Linked DNA regions of Homo sapiens: all the other regions are linked to region 3. The links are contacts of gene promoters, found by promoter capture Hi-C in blood cells and fetal thymus (Javierre and others, 2016). All regions are on one chromosome and are shown on one strand. The core of a region is centred on a gene start or on the middle of the fragment in contact, and the rest is flanking DNA. Distances in the headings are between cores, read along the strand shown.

What was found. The method cuts DNA at HindIII sites, captures the fragments that hold promoters and counts their contacts. A CHiCAGO score of 5 or more calls a contact.
Region 1: a contact is called between a fragment that was not itself captured here and the fragment with the promoter of SLC45A1 in region 3, in 9 of 17 cell types (total CD8 T cells, total CD4 T cells, naive CD4 T cells and 6 more). The highest score is 10.1, in total CD8 T cells.
Region 2: a fragment that was not itself captured here is called in contact with the fragment with the promoter of SLC45A1 in region 3 in 5 of 17 cell types (total CD8 T cells, naive CD4 T cells, naive CD8 T cells and 2 more); the score reaches 8.7 in total CD8 T cells.

The regions. Positions count from the first base shown.
Region 1 is chr1:8,108,571-8,113,316 of GRCh38, forward strand. All of the region lies in intron 2 of ERRFI1-DT (ERRFI1 divergent transcript), which reads left to right. Among named protein-coding and RNA genes, the nearest start is that of ERRFI1-DT, 84 kb to the left of the region's middle. The HindIII fragment of the contact is 151 bases long and covers 1,629-1,779 here.
Region 2 is chr1:8,151,351-8,155,961 of GRCh38, forward strand. No RefSeq gene overlaps it. Among named protein-coding and RNA genes, the nearest start is that of LINC01714, 55 kb to the right of the region's middle. The HindIII fragment of the contact is 7,766 bases long and covers 1-4,611 here.
Region 3 is chr1:8,315,283-8,320,051 of GRCh38, forward strand. It overlaps SLC45A1 (solute carrier family 45 member 1), which reads left to right and starts at 2,832. Exons shown (of 9, transcript NM_001080397.3): 1 at 2,832-2,904. RefSeq lists a silencer at 2,662-2,941. The HindIII fragment of the contact is 5,366 bases long and covers 537-4,769 here.

The sequences.
Region 1 (4,746 bases), core at 454-2,953, 210 kb before region 3:
ACTCTTCCAAGTCACAGGAATGAAGAAAAGACTCCCTAATGAATTGAGACCCAAATCAATTTGTATAAGCACAAAACTAAAAAAGCAGGCAAGAATGGTACAAGAAAGGAGAATTCCTGATCAATTTCACTCACGAACATAGCTGTAAAAATCCTAAGCAACATATTTGCCAGCAGAATCAAGGAAGGTGCAGGCCCACCCTGTTTTATTGTGGTTCACTCTCTTGCACTTCACTGATGCTATACTTTCTACAAATTAAAGTTTTGTGGCAACCCTGCGTTGAGCATGTCTCTTGGTACCATTTTCCAACGGGGTGTGCTCACTTCATGTCTCTGTGTCACACTTTGCTAATTCTCACACTACTTCAAACTTTTTAATATGTATTGTATCTGTTATGGTGATCTGTGATCAATGGTCCTTGATGTTGCTGTTGTGATTGTTTTGGGGCATCATGAACTGTGCCCACATAAGACCGCAAACTTGATCGGTAAATGTTCTGACTGCTCCACTGATCGGCCATCCCTCCCGTCTCTTTCCCTCTCCTTGGGCCCCCTATTCCCTGAGACACAAGAATATTGAAATTATGCCAATTAATAACCCTACAATGAATTCTAAGTGTTCAAGTGATAGGAAGAGTTGCATATCTCTATGTTGGTGCAAAGGTAGTTGCCGGTTTTGCTATTACTTTCAATGGCAAAACCCGCAATTACCTTTGCACCAAACCAACCTAATATTTTAGATCAAGTGCTGAAAGTGATTATGCTTAGTGAGGAATGCATATTGAAAGCTGAGACAGGTCAAAAGCTGAGTCTCTTCTGCCAAACAGTTAGCCAAACTGTGAGTGCAAAGGAAAGTCTCCTGAAGGAAATTCCAAGTGCCGCTCCAGTGAACACATGAATGATAAGAAAGCAAAACAGCCTTATTGCTGATATGGAGAAAGTTCTAGTGGTCTGGATAGAAGATCAAACCAGGCACAACACTCCCTTAAACCGATGCCTAATCCAGAGCAGGGCCCTAACTCTTTTTTTTTTCTTTTGAGAGAGAGGCTTGCTCTGTCGCCCAAGCTGGAGTGCAGTGGTGTGATCTCGGCTCACTGCAACCTCTGCCTTCCGGGTTCACACGATTCTCCTCTCTCAGCCTCCCGAGTAGCTGGGATTACAGGGGCGCCCCACCACACCCAGCTAATTTTTGTATTTTTAGTAGAGATGGGGTTTCACCATGTTGGCCAGGCTGGTCTCGAATCCCTGACCTCAGGTGATCCACCCACCTCGGCTTCCCAAAGGGCTGGGATTACAGGCGTGAGCCACCATGCCCGGCCTAACTCTTTTCAATCCTGTGAAGTCTGAGAGAGATGAGAAAGCTGCAGAGGAAACATTCGAAGCCAGCAGAGGCTGGTTCATGAGGTCTAAGGAATGAAGCCATCTCCATAGCATAAAAGCCAAAGGTGAGGCAGCAAGTGCTGATGGGGAAGCTGCCGCAGGTTATCCAGAAGATCCAGCTAAGATCCTTGATAAAGGTGGCTCCACTGAACAACAGATTTTCAGTGTAGATGAAACAGCCTTCTATCGGAAGACGATGTCATCCAGGATTTTCATAGACAGAGAGGAGAAGTCGATACCTGGCTTCAAAGCTTCAAAGGACAGGCCAACTCTTGTTAGGAGCGAATACAGCTGTTGACTTTAGATTGAAGTCTGTGCTCCTTGGCCATTCCAAAAATCCCATGGCCCTTAAGCCTTAAGCTAAATCTACTCTGCCTGTGCTTTATAAATGAAACAACAAAGCTTGGATGACAACACATCTGTTTACAGCATGGCTTACCAAATATTTTAAGCTCACTGTTGAGACCTACTATTCAGGAGAAAAAGATTCCTTTCACAATATTACTGCTCATTGACAATGTACCTGGTTACTCAAGAGCTCTGCTGGAGATGTACAAGGAAATGAATGCTGTTTTCATGCTTGCTAACACAACATTCATTCTGCAGCCCATGGATACAGTAATTTTGACTTTCAAATCTTATTACGTAAGAAATTCGTTTTGTAAGGCTATGGCTGCACATAGATAGTGATTCCTCTGATGGATCTGGGCAAAGTAAATTGAAAACCTTCTGGAAAATATTTACCATTCTAGATGCCATTAAAAATGTTTGTGATTCATGGGAGGAGGTCAAAATATCCACATTAACAGGAGTTTGAAAGAAGTGGATTCCAACCCTTGGAATGACTTTGAGGCATTCAAGGCTTCAGTGGAGGAAGTAACTGCAGATGTGGTGGAAATAGCAAGAGAACTCGAATTAGAAGCGGAGCCTGAAGATGTGGCTGAACTGCTACAATCTCATGATCAAACTTGAATGATGAAGAGTTGCTTCTTGTGGATGAGCAAAGAAAGTGGTTTCTTGAGATGGAATTTACTTCTGGTGAAGATACTGTGAATACTGTTGAAATGACAACAGAGGATTTAGAATATTATTTAAACTTAGCTGATAAAACAGCAGCAGGTTTGAAAGGATTGACTCCAATTTTGAAAGAAGTTCTGTGGGTAAAATGCTATCATATAGCATCACACACTACGAAGAAATCTTTCGTGAAAGGAAGAGTCCTAATCAATGCAAAAAACTTCATTGTCATTTTGAGAAATTGCCACAGCCATGCCAACCTTCAGCAACCACCATGGTGATCAGCCAGCAGCCATCAACATAGAGGCAAGACCCTCTGCCAACAAAAAGATTGTGACTCACTGAAGGCTCAGATGACTGTTAGTGTTTTTTAGCAATAAATTATTATTATTATTATTTGAGATGGAGTCTCACTCTATCGCCCAGGCTGGAGTGCAGTGGCATGATCTTGGCTCACTGCACCTTCTGCCTCCCGGATTCAAGCAATCCTCCTGCTTCAACCTCCCAAGTAGCTGGGACTACAGGCTTGAGTACCACACTCGGCTAATTTTTGTATTTTTAGTAGAGATGGAATTTCACCATGTTGGCCAGGCTGGTCTTGAACTCCTGACCTCAGGTGATCCACCCGCCTCGGCATCCCAAAGTGCTGGGATTACAGGTGTGAGCCACCATGCCTGGCCTTATTTTTAATTAAGGTATGTACATTTTTTAGACATAATGCTATTGCACACTTATAGACTACAGTATAGTTTAAATAAAACTTTTATATACACTGAGAAACCAAAAAACTAGTGTGACTCACTTTAATATTTGCTTTATTGAGGTGGTCTGGAATGCAACCCAAAATATCTCCATAGTATGCCTATATGAGAAAGATAAAGTTTATTCCAGGAAAATCGATTGTAATCTGTACCAGTAGTCGATTAAAGGAGAAAAACCATGTGATTGTCTTAATCAATGTAGAAAAGCAAATTATAAAATTTAACATTCATCCATAATTTAAAAAACTTAATCGACTATAAGTAGAAGAGAATATCCTTCACGTAATGAAGACCATTTTTAAAAACAAACAAAACTACAGCAAACCTCAAACTTTATGGTAAAACGTTAAAAACATTCTCTCTCGGCCAGGCACAGTGGCTCACGCCTGTAATGCCAGCACTCTGTGAGGCCGAGGTGGGCAGATCACGAGGTCAGGAGATCAAGACCCAACCTGGCTAACATGGTGAAACCCCGTCTCTACTAAAAATACAAAAAATTAGCCAGGCGTGGTGGCGGGTTCCTGTAGTCCCAGCTACTCGGGAGGCTGAGGCAGGAGAATGGCGTCAACCCGGGAGGCGGAGCTTGCAGTGAGATCGTGCCACTGCACTCCAACCTGGGTGACAGAGTGAGACTCTGTCTGAAAAAACAAAAACAAAACAAAAAAAACAAACATTCTCTTGAAAATGAGGAAAAACTCCAAGACATCAAGTCTTGTCAGTTTGAGTTCACATAGTAATGGAGATGCTTGTCAGATCAGCAAGACAAGGAAGAAAATTACAGAATTGGAAAGAAATAAAACAGAAATCATTCAGAGATGTATTTGATTGACTTCTTAGAAAATCCTAAGGAATATACAGACGGATTAATAAAGTGTTTTAGCTAAGTTACTGCATACAAAATCAAAATGCAAAGATCAATTACATTTCTATAATATCATCACACTAACAACACTGAAAAATAGATAATAAAAATGATGCCAGCAGACGTGATGGCATCATTACAAGCTCACTCCTGTAATCCCAGCACTTTGGGAGGCCGAGGTGGGAGGATTGCTTGAGCCCAGGAGTTCAAGACCAGCCTGGGCAACATAGTGAGATCCCATCTCTACAAATAATAATACTAAAAATTAGCCAGGCTTGATGGCACATGCCTGTGCTCCCAGCTACTTGGGAGGCTGTGGTCGGAGGATCGCTTGAGCCCAGGTGGTAGAGGCTGCAGTGAGTTGTGATCACACCACTGCACTCCAGGCTGGGCGACAGAGCGAGACCCTGTCTCCAAAACAACAACAACAAACGATGCCATTTGCAATAGTACTTAGGAATAAACACATCAGAAACGAGCGAGACCTTCATGGAAAACATTATGCAATACGCTTGCCAGACATAAAGACCTAAATACATGGAGAATTAGATCATGTTTTTGAAGACATAACCTCCAAAATACATCAATTCTCCTCCCGCTAAGCTACAGATTCAATGTCATTCCAATCAAAATCCCAAGAATTGTTTCTGTTTTGTTTTGAATTTAGCAAACCGAATTTTTAATGTGCCGGTTATAATATAGTTATATACAAGAGGATTCCATTATG
Region 2 (4,611 bases), core at 566-3,065, 160 kb before region 3:
ACTCTGTCAAAAAAAAAAAAGAAAGAAAAAAAGATGTTACTAGCAGGAGAAAGTGTCTATGGGGAGAGGAAGGGCACACGGGAGCTCTGCGTTTTCTGCTCCATGTTCCTGTAAACCTAAAACTGCTCAACCAAATAAAAAGATCCATTTAAAAAATCAGTACCTTCGTAAAACCGAAAAAACATTAAAATAAGAATGAAGTGACAAGTGCAATTTAAGTCAGGAACTTGTTAGGTGAAAGTACTGAGGTGAAAACAGACCTTTATTCTGAATTCTCTGAGGAGCTGATCAAAGGAGGGATGAGTTACATAGGGCACATTGTCTACGGAAAGAAAACAGACCTGTTTTCCGGGAGAGACAGGCCAACTCTGAGATGAATTTGTCCCAGTTTGTTGCTGTTGTTTGTTTCAGAGACAGGGTCTCTTTCTGTCCCCCAGGCTGGAGTGCAGTGGCACAATCTCCTCTCACTGCAATCTCTGCCTCCCAGGCTCAAGCGATCTTTCCACCTCACACGCCTGAGTAGCACCCACCACAACACCCGGCTAATTTTTGTATTTTTTTGTAGGGATGGGGTTTCACCATGCTGCCCAGCTGGTTTTGAACTCCTGAGCTCAAGCGATCCATCCTCCTGCCTTGGCCTCCTAAAGTGCTGGGATTATAGGTGTGAGCCACTGCGTTTGGCTAGTTTTTATTCCTCATGGAGAAATAGCATAATGGGTGATGAGCCCGACTGGGCTGTCACTAGAAGTTCTACACATTACCATTTCGTATCAATCCAGGTTTTAAAAACCCAAGAAGGCCTGATGCTGCTACATTGTAGCTCATCAGGATGGTTCTGTGCTGCACACAGATTGGAGGACGCAGATATCTTTCTTCAGGATCAGTGCTTACGGTTTCATTTTAGGAATATCTATTTGCCCCTCAACTTTAAAGCTGAGTCAGGGCTGCGCCAGATGTGTTTTGTCTGCTTCTATACTCCTGACTTGTTCATTTTTCCCTTAAAGGGCTGCTTTCCGACTAGGCGTGGTGGCTTATGCCTGTAATCCAAGCATTTTGGGAGGCCAAGGAAGGAGGATGGCTTGAGATCAGGTGTTCGAGACCAGCCTGGCCAACATGGTGAGACCCCGTTTCTACTGAAAATACAAAAAAATTAGCCAGGCATGGTGGCACGTGCCTTTAACTCCAGCTACTCTGGAGGCTGAGGCAGGAGAATCACTTGAACTCGGAAGGTGGAGGTTGCAGTGAGCCGAGATCACCCCACTGCACTCCAGCCTGGGCGACAGAGCAAGACTCCATCTCAAAAAAAAAAAAAAAGGGCTGCTTTCAAAGATCACTGCATAAGTAGTGTGCTTATTATGATAGATTTTATAACTTTAAGATATAATCATCTTGTTCTTTTTCGTACATTAGCAAAGGAAACCATGAAACCACACGTTAGAATTGAGGGGACTTTGAAGTCAGGGAGTCTCTTTTTTACAGTTGAAGAGGCTCCGACAAACGTCAATGGTTTGCTCATGGGTACATGGCTAGTAAACACCAGAGCTGGCTCTAGGACTCGCATTGATGTCGGTTAATTGATATACCTGACCCCGCTACTAGTGCACAATTACTGCCCTGCGTCAGGCCAAATCAGGGGCATGGATCATCATGTTGGGGACACTACCCCAAAGGAGGAGATGACATGGCTGTCCACAAACCGGGAGCCCAGTTGTGCCCAGAATTGGTTCCTTCTGGTTGGTTCTTGGTCTCGCTGACTTCAAAAATGAAGCCGCGGACCCTCACAGTGAGTGGTACAGTTCTAAAGATGGTGTGTCTGAAGTTTGTTCCTTCAGATGTTGAGATGTGTTCAGAGTTTCTTCCTTCTGGTAGGTTTGTGGTCTCACTGACTTCATGAGTGAAGCCACAGACCTTTGCAGTGAGTGTTACAACTCTTAAAGGTGGTGTGTGTGGAGTTCTCTGTTCCTCCTGGTGGATTCGTGGTCTTGCTGGCTTCAGGACTGAAGCTGCAGACCTTCATGGTGACTGTTAATCTCACAAAGGTAGCACAAACCCAAAGACTGAGCAGCAGTAAAATTTATTGCTAAGAACAAAAGAACAAAACTTCCACAGTTAGAAGACGACTGGCGGAGATTACCGCTGCTGGCTCAGGTGGCCAGCTTTTATTCCCTTATTTGGTCCCACCCACATCCTGCTGATTGGTCCACTTTTCAGAGCACTGATTGGTCCATTTTACAGAGTGCTGATTGGTCCGTTTTTACTGAGTGCTGATTGGTGCATTTACAAACCTTTAGCTAGACACAGAGCGCTGACTGGTGCGTTTTTACAGAGTGCTGATTGGTGTGTTTACAAACCTTTAGCCAGACGCAGAGCTCTGATTGGTGTGTTTACAATCCTTTAGCTAGACAGAAAAGTTATCCAAGTCCCCCCACCTGACCCAGAAGCCCAGCTGGATTCACCTCTCACGGTGGCCCTCCTGCTCACACAACCTGCCTACCTCTTGGGAAGACACCTCCTGTTTGGACTTGCTGGTTTTTGTGCAGTCACGCAGAAAGCCCCATTTCGCATGACGCTAGCTGAACTAGAAGCAGAGAGACATGTACAACATTATAGATCTTTTATAGTTAAAAGGACCAGGAAATTCTGATCCCCTGACCCTCTCAACACCCTCCCCCCGCCACCCAAAACAACCACCAGGAAAGCGTTCTGCACTTCAGTGGAAAAGGCAAATCTTGTAACACTTGGCCTTGGCCTAGGTGCTGGGTGTCCAGAGCGGATAGAGGCCCATGGCGACAGTTGTGCCAGCAGATTCCTGCTGCTAAGTCCCCGGCCTTTGCGCTCTGTGGCCTGGGCTGATGGGTGGGTGGGTGCCTTTATTTGCCTGGTTGAGGAGTGCACTCACTGGGGGCCATTTGGTTTGAAACATTTTTTGCAGCTAAGGGGTGGTAAAGATGACGCTAGTTTAGCTGAGTTTAAGGCTAATTAATCAGCCTTCTTTTTTCTTTTTCTTTCCTTTTTTTTTTAGACAGAGTCTCACACAATTCCCTGGGCTGGAGTGCAGTGGTGCGATCATGGCTCACTACTGCAGCATCAACCTCCTGGACTCAAGCAATTCTCCTGCCTCAGCCTCCCGAGTAGCTGGGACTATAGGTGCCCAACACCATTGCCCCGCTATTTTTTTATTTTTTATTTTTTATTTTTTGTGGAGACAGGGCTTTGCCATGTTGCTCAGGCTGGTCTCAAACTCCTGGGCCCAAGTGATCCTCCTGCCTCAGTCTCCCAAAGTGCCAGATTTACAGGTGTAAGCCACCGCGCCCAGCCAAATCAGCCTTCTAAAGAGCTTAATTTTCCATCACTGACTTTGTGTTCTTTTATACAAAGGTTGCAGACTCCGAGGCTGAAACCCCTTTCTGACCGGTAGCTCTAGAGTAAACAAACGCCTGGACTTTCTTCATCCCCTGAAGACAAAGAACTTGTTCATGAGCCTCTCCAGGCAGCTCGTGGTCTGAGCTGTCAGGAATGACGGATGAGCAGCTGCTTTTGCCGGCGCCTCCGCGGCAGCTAAGGTAGCGCTCACAGGACTGTCTACACCATGGACTCAGTGTTCAGGTGTTCAGGGAGTTATTATTGGAGCAGCTCACTCTATCTTAAGGCAGACAGCCCCGGGCAAAGCGCAGCGGATAAACACAAGTGACATCTTATGAAACCTAAGTTCATGTGAAATCCTAGATAATTCTGTTGTCAGAAGTGAAAATATATATTGCATTTTTATCTAAAAATAAAAATGAATGTGATGATCTTTTTGCTCTTTGAGATCTAGATTTCGAAAATCTTTTCTTAGATGAAGAAGGAAGCCATTTCTTTGTACTATATCTTGGAAGAAGATTTTTTTTAAAGGAAAGCTGTAGGCTATATATACAGTCAGAAATTTGAAAAGATGCATATATATTTATTGAAAACTAGAAATGTTTTTGAAATAATAATAAGTTTAAAAAAGGAGAACAGAGTAAAAAGTGGAAAAGCAGTTAATTACATAATACAATACGTATTAGAAAAGGGGAAACCACTCCGTTTTTCTGATCCTAATCCTAGGAAAAAATTTCCTTGGAGAAATCTGCATCTTAGGCAGCTCTGGGAAGAATCCAAGGGCCCTCACTCCATCTTTAAAGAGCCCACCCTGGCTTTTCCCAGTGGAATTTGCTATGTTTGGGAAGTTTAAAAAGTGTTTAAGACAATATGGATTTTGCAATGGGATTTACACATAATTAACTCATGAGTCGCTTCTTTTGTGTTCCACTCTATGTCTGCTTTGTGGTTCCTGAAAGTCCTTGAAGAACCGGAGCTGAAGGTACAGGGCCCACGTTTGCCTAATCCCAGGCTGGAACAATTGGTTTCAGTCCCCGCCTCTCTTGGAATGTGGTTTGGAGGTGGAGGAAGGGGAGGAGGGGGACGCAGGAGGCCGGTGGAGCACGGCAGAGCAAAGCAGCTTCCTTCTCCAAGGGCTGAGGAGCCACGGAGTGCTCCTCTTTTAGGTCATCTCCTTTTTTGTTTTTGTTTTTGAGACAGGGTCTCACCCTGTTGCCCAGGCTGGAGTGCTGTGGTACAATCACAGCA
Region 3 (4,769 bases), core at 1,582-4,081:
CCTGAACTTGGAGGGGCTAAAAAGCAAAAGCTCTAGCCTTAGAAGGTTCTCACTTTGGAAGTTTAAAAAAGGTCAAAGGAATTTTCAAAATCCCTTTCTTTCTCAACAATGCTTAGATTTCAAACCTCTTCTCTTGTTGCAAAATCCCGTTGTGAACATCAGAACCTCGAGATGATCTTTAAGTTTTCTCAGCATTCCCCATCTTCTCTCCCCTCTGCAAGCAGCTAAAAGTTACAGAAGCAGTTGAAGCCAGCAACTCCCCACCCCCATCTCCTCCTCTCCTGGGGACAGGGGCCCCATCTCTCAGCCCTGTTGTGGGTTGGGTGTGGCCGGTGTGGCTGTGTGGCAGGGTCCTAGCCAATGGGATTCGAGTGGAACGTGGGCCTCCTGCACACCTGGCCCCGTGGGCAGGCACCACCTGGGCTCCTCCCTCAGTGCACCAGGGCAGAGCAAGATGGAGGCAACCGGGATCCCTGAATGGCTTCACAGAGGTCCCCACCCATCAGGCACACTTCTGCCAACCTCATGTGGAAGTAAGCTTCTATTGCATTAAGTCCCTGAGGTGCTGAAGCTCATCAGTTGATGGCAGGCCACTTGCATGCAAAATAGAAAAGGACATCGGTATTTTTTTCAAGCTGTTACCCTGTTATAGAGATAAAAGAAGCCAGAACCAGCCCCCTCCAGTGGCTCCTTCTCTTCAGCCTGGGCAGGATCTGTTGAAATTCCCATGGTGTCCTCTGGGGCCCTCTGCCCTGCGCCTCTCCCTGGCAGTGCGAGGTCCACAGTTCACCTGCAATTAGCTCCCATGTGCAGGGGACTCATAAAGGAGCATCTTTGAGCTCCAGACCCAAGTGTCTGGTGGCCTAGAGGCTGCGAAGGCCCTCAAGCTCAGCATATCCCAAAGCAAACCTATGGCATTCACTCCAGCACACACCTGCTTTGGCCTCCATGAATCCACTCTCTTCCCTCATCGCTCAAGCTAGAAACTTCTTAGCACCACCCTCGCTGTTCCTGTACCCCCCCACCTTCAGTCAATCATGGAGTCCTAAGTCCCCGGCCAGTCCATCACCTCTCTCCCTCTACCAACACCCCCAACTCTCCCACCTGTGCCACCCGGTACGCCCATGTGGTCCCCTGGTTCCCTCCAATCTGTTTTCACTCTGAGCTTTATGATCTTTGCTAACTGTGAATAGGATTCATGCCATCCACTCCCCTACATAAAACCTTTCTAGGCTTCTCTTTGCTCTTAGAAACTGGCAACTGCCTAAGAGGCCACACCTGGGCCTGTCCCACCTCCCCAGCCCTCACCTCCTTCCCAGGCCTCTGCATCCCTGTCCCCCTCCACTTCCTTTGCAGTGTGCCTCCAGGCCCTCTCCCCTCCGGAGCTCTGCCAGTGCAGAGCTCTCTGAGCCCTCTGTGTGGGACATGCTGTTCTCTCTACTTGGCCTGGTAGGGCTCCTTGAGGAGCCCTCGACCCTCCCAATGGGGTGGAATCCGCCGCGGTAAACTTCCACAGGGCCCCGTGCCCCCACTCTGCAGCGCTTCCCTGGGGTTATTATTCCACTACCAGCTGCATAATTATTTCATCCGTAATTATTGGACTCAGCCCAGCTCACTTCTGCCCCTGGCCTTTGCACTTGCTCTTCCCAGTGCCTGGCGTGACCTTCCCCACACGTCAGTCTGGCTGGCCCCCCTAGCTCCTCAGGTCCTTCTTTTCTTTTTGAGATGGAGTCTCACTCTGTGGCCCAGGCTGGAGTGCAGTGGCACGATCTCAGCTCACTGCAACCCCTGCCTCCCAGGTTCAAGCGATTCTCCTGCCTCAGCTGAGTAGCTGAGATTACAGGCACCCAGCACCACGTGTGGCTAATTTTTATATTTTTAGTAGAGATGGGGGTTTTGCCATGTTGGCCAGGCTGGTCTCGAACTCCAGACCTCAGGTGATCTGCCCCTCTCGGCCTCCCAGAGCGCAGGGATTACAGGTGTGAGCCACCGTGCCCGGCCTGCTCCGCAAATCCTCCTTCTAGTGTCACCTTCCAGGTGAGGACTCGCCAACAACCTGATAGAAACCTGCAAGGCCAGCGCCTCTGCAGCCCCACACTCCCTAACCCCTTCTCTAGGGCATTGCCATCTTCTGACATACCATTTATTTTATGTCTTGTTTAATGTGTGTGTGTCTCTCTCTTAAATGTCATGCAGCCGGGTGCGGTGGCTCACACCTGTACTTTGGGAGGCCGAGGCAGAAGGATCACTTGAGCCCAGGAGTCGAGACCAGCCTGGGCAACATAGCAAGGCCCTGCCTCTCTGTATTTTAAAAAATGAAGTAAATAATAAATACATAAAGTATTTATGTATTTACTTACATTACAAAGTTCCCCCAGGGGCGGGAACTTTGCCTTGTTCTTGCGGCATCCCCAGTGCCTTGGACAGCTCCGGGCCCAGAGTCGCGACGCCTCCAGCAGGCCCGGCTGCCCCACTGCGCACATGGGCACAGGCTTGGCACACGCACTGCGGCATTCACGTATCCGCGAACACATGGGTATCTATTTATACATGAAGACACGAAAATGTATTTATTTCTTTTAAAATCAGAAGAAAACGGTGAGAACTGTGAGGCCGGGGGGACGTTTTCCTCCGGGATCCTGGCAGATCCTGCAGACCGCGCCGTCGTGCGCGAAGCACCGGGACGGGCCTCCCGCGGGAAGGGCCCAGGAGGACACCGGGCTCCCCTCCCGCCCGCGGGGCCCCAGACGCGGCGCCGCTTTAAGGCTCCGGGCCCCGCGCGGATGCGGAGGCTGCGGCCGTGACGTCAGCGCCCCGCCCCGGGTGATGCTGCAGCAGCCGGGACCGCGGCCGGGCAGGCAGCAGCCCAGCGGGGACAGGGATGCCTGCCGTCTCCACCCACAGGTACCACCGTCTCCTCCGCGCCCTCCGCCCGCTCTCTGGCTCCGTGCCTGCCGGGGCGCCGCGCCCTGGGCCCCGGGGTAGTCAGGGCGCCGAGACCGGGACCCGAGGCCGGCACGGAGACCTTTGTTCCTCGTGGAAGTCTCATGAATTGCAGAGTCCACGGAGCTCCCCCGTCTCGCCCCTCCGAGGGCAGGAGCCTCGGGCCCAGGGGAGGGTGCCGGCCAGATGGCAGGTGCTCTCATCCTTGCTGGCAAGGGGAGGAGACCCCGGCCTTGGCCCCAGCTCCTGATGCGCTCCTTGAGCCGGAGGCCTGGTCCCTAGTCACCTGGGCAGGTGTCATCCGCTCCCGGCTCACCTCTTGCGTGGGGCTGAGCCCTCTTGTTGACCAGGGGCCTGGCAACGCCCCTCAGCATCCCAGGGTTACTTAGCGAGGGCACCGAGGACTCCCCTTTCCCGAGCGAGTCAGCACCAAGGGGAACGCGCTGAGGTGGAAGCCGTTCAGCTCCTTCTGCCCTCGACAATCAGCAACTTCTCTAATTATTTCTAGAGTGACAGCCGTGCATGTTTTTCAGCTCTTACAGGGAAGCAGAGTCAGGGGCGGAGGAAAGCCACGTTCAGGCTGCACCTGGCCTGGGCTTTTGGGAAAAGTTGGCCCTGGAGTAGGGGTCAAGCTGCCGGAGATGCAAAGTGGGAAACGGCCACGATTCAGTAACTAGCCTATTAAGTGCACCCTCCCAAGTCCGTAGAGCACCTTCCTGGTCCTGGAGGACCTCACTGAAGAATTTTGAGAATGGGTAGAAAGAAGCATGAGGGGTCGGGCGCGGTGGCTCATGCCTGTAATCCCAGCACTTTGGGAGGCTGAGTCGGGTGGATCACCTGAGGTCAGGAGTTCAAGACCAGCCTGGCCAACATGGTGAAACCCCATCTCTACTAAAAATACAAAATTAGCCGGGCGTGGTGGCACATGCCTGTAATCCCAGCTACTTGGGAAGCTGAGGCAGGAGAATCGCTTGAACCCAGGAGGCGGAGGTTGCAGTGAACCCAGATCATGCCACTGCACTCTAGTCTGGGCGATAGAGTGAGACTCCGTCTCAAATAAACAAATAAGCAAATACGCCCTAGGAAGGGAGGTGGCCCAAGGCAACCCCGTGGGGGGAGCTCATTTTCATAACGAGAAGAAAGAAATGAGGAAATGGTTTCCGCTCGTAGTAGGATCATTGTAAGCATTCAAACTACATTGACATTGATTACTTTTATTAATCATTTGCCGCTTAAACTTCCCACAACACAGTTTGAGGAATCTGTTACTTTAAGCATCCTCTGTACTCTGGAAGCACAGTGGACCCCTTGCATAGCCTTCGGGGGATCCAGGGAGATGAGTGGATTTCCTTTTGACCGAGTAAATGGTCATATGGTACAGTAAAGATGGTCTGGCGAATGTTTGTATTTGTGCATGAAAATTAGATTTTATGATCTTAAATTCCACTTTCACCCATTTTTATGGGAACCTTAAAAATGGATTTTTGTTGTTGTTGTTGTTGTTTTTTGAGACAAGAGTCTCACTCTGTTGCCCAGGCTGGAGTGCAGTGGTGCGATCTCAGCTCGCTACAACCTCCACCTCCTGGGTTCAAGCGATTCTCCTGCCTCAGCCTCCGGAGTAGCTGGGATTACAGGCACTCGCCACCATGCCCAGCTAATTTTTTGTATTTTTAGTAGAGACGGGGTTTCTCCATGTTGGCCAGGCTGGTCTCGAACTCCTGAGCTCAGGTGATCCACCCACCTCGGCCTCCCAAAGTGCTGGCATTACAGGCGTCAGCCACTGTGCCCGGTCTCAAAAATGAGTTTCTAAAATTCTTCTTATGATA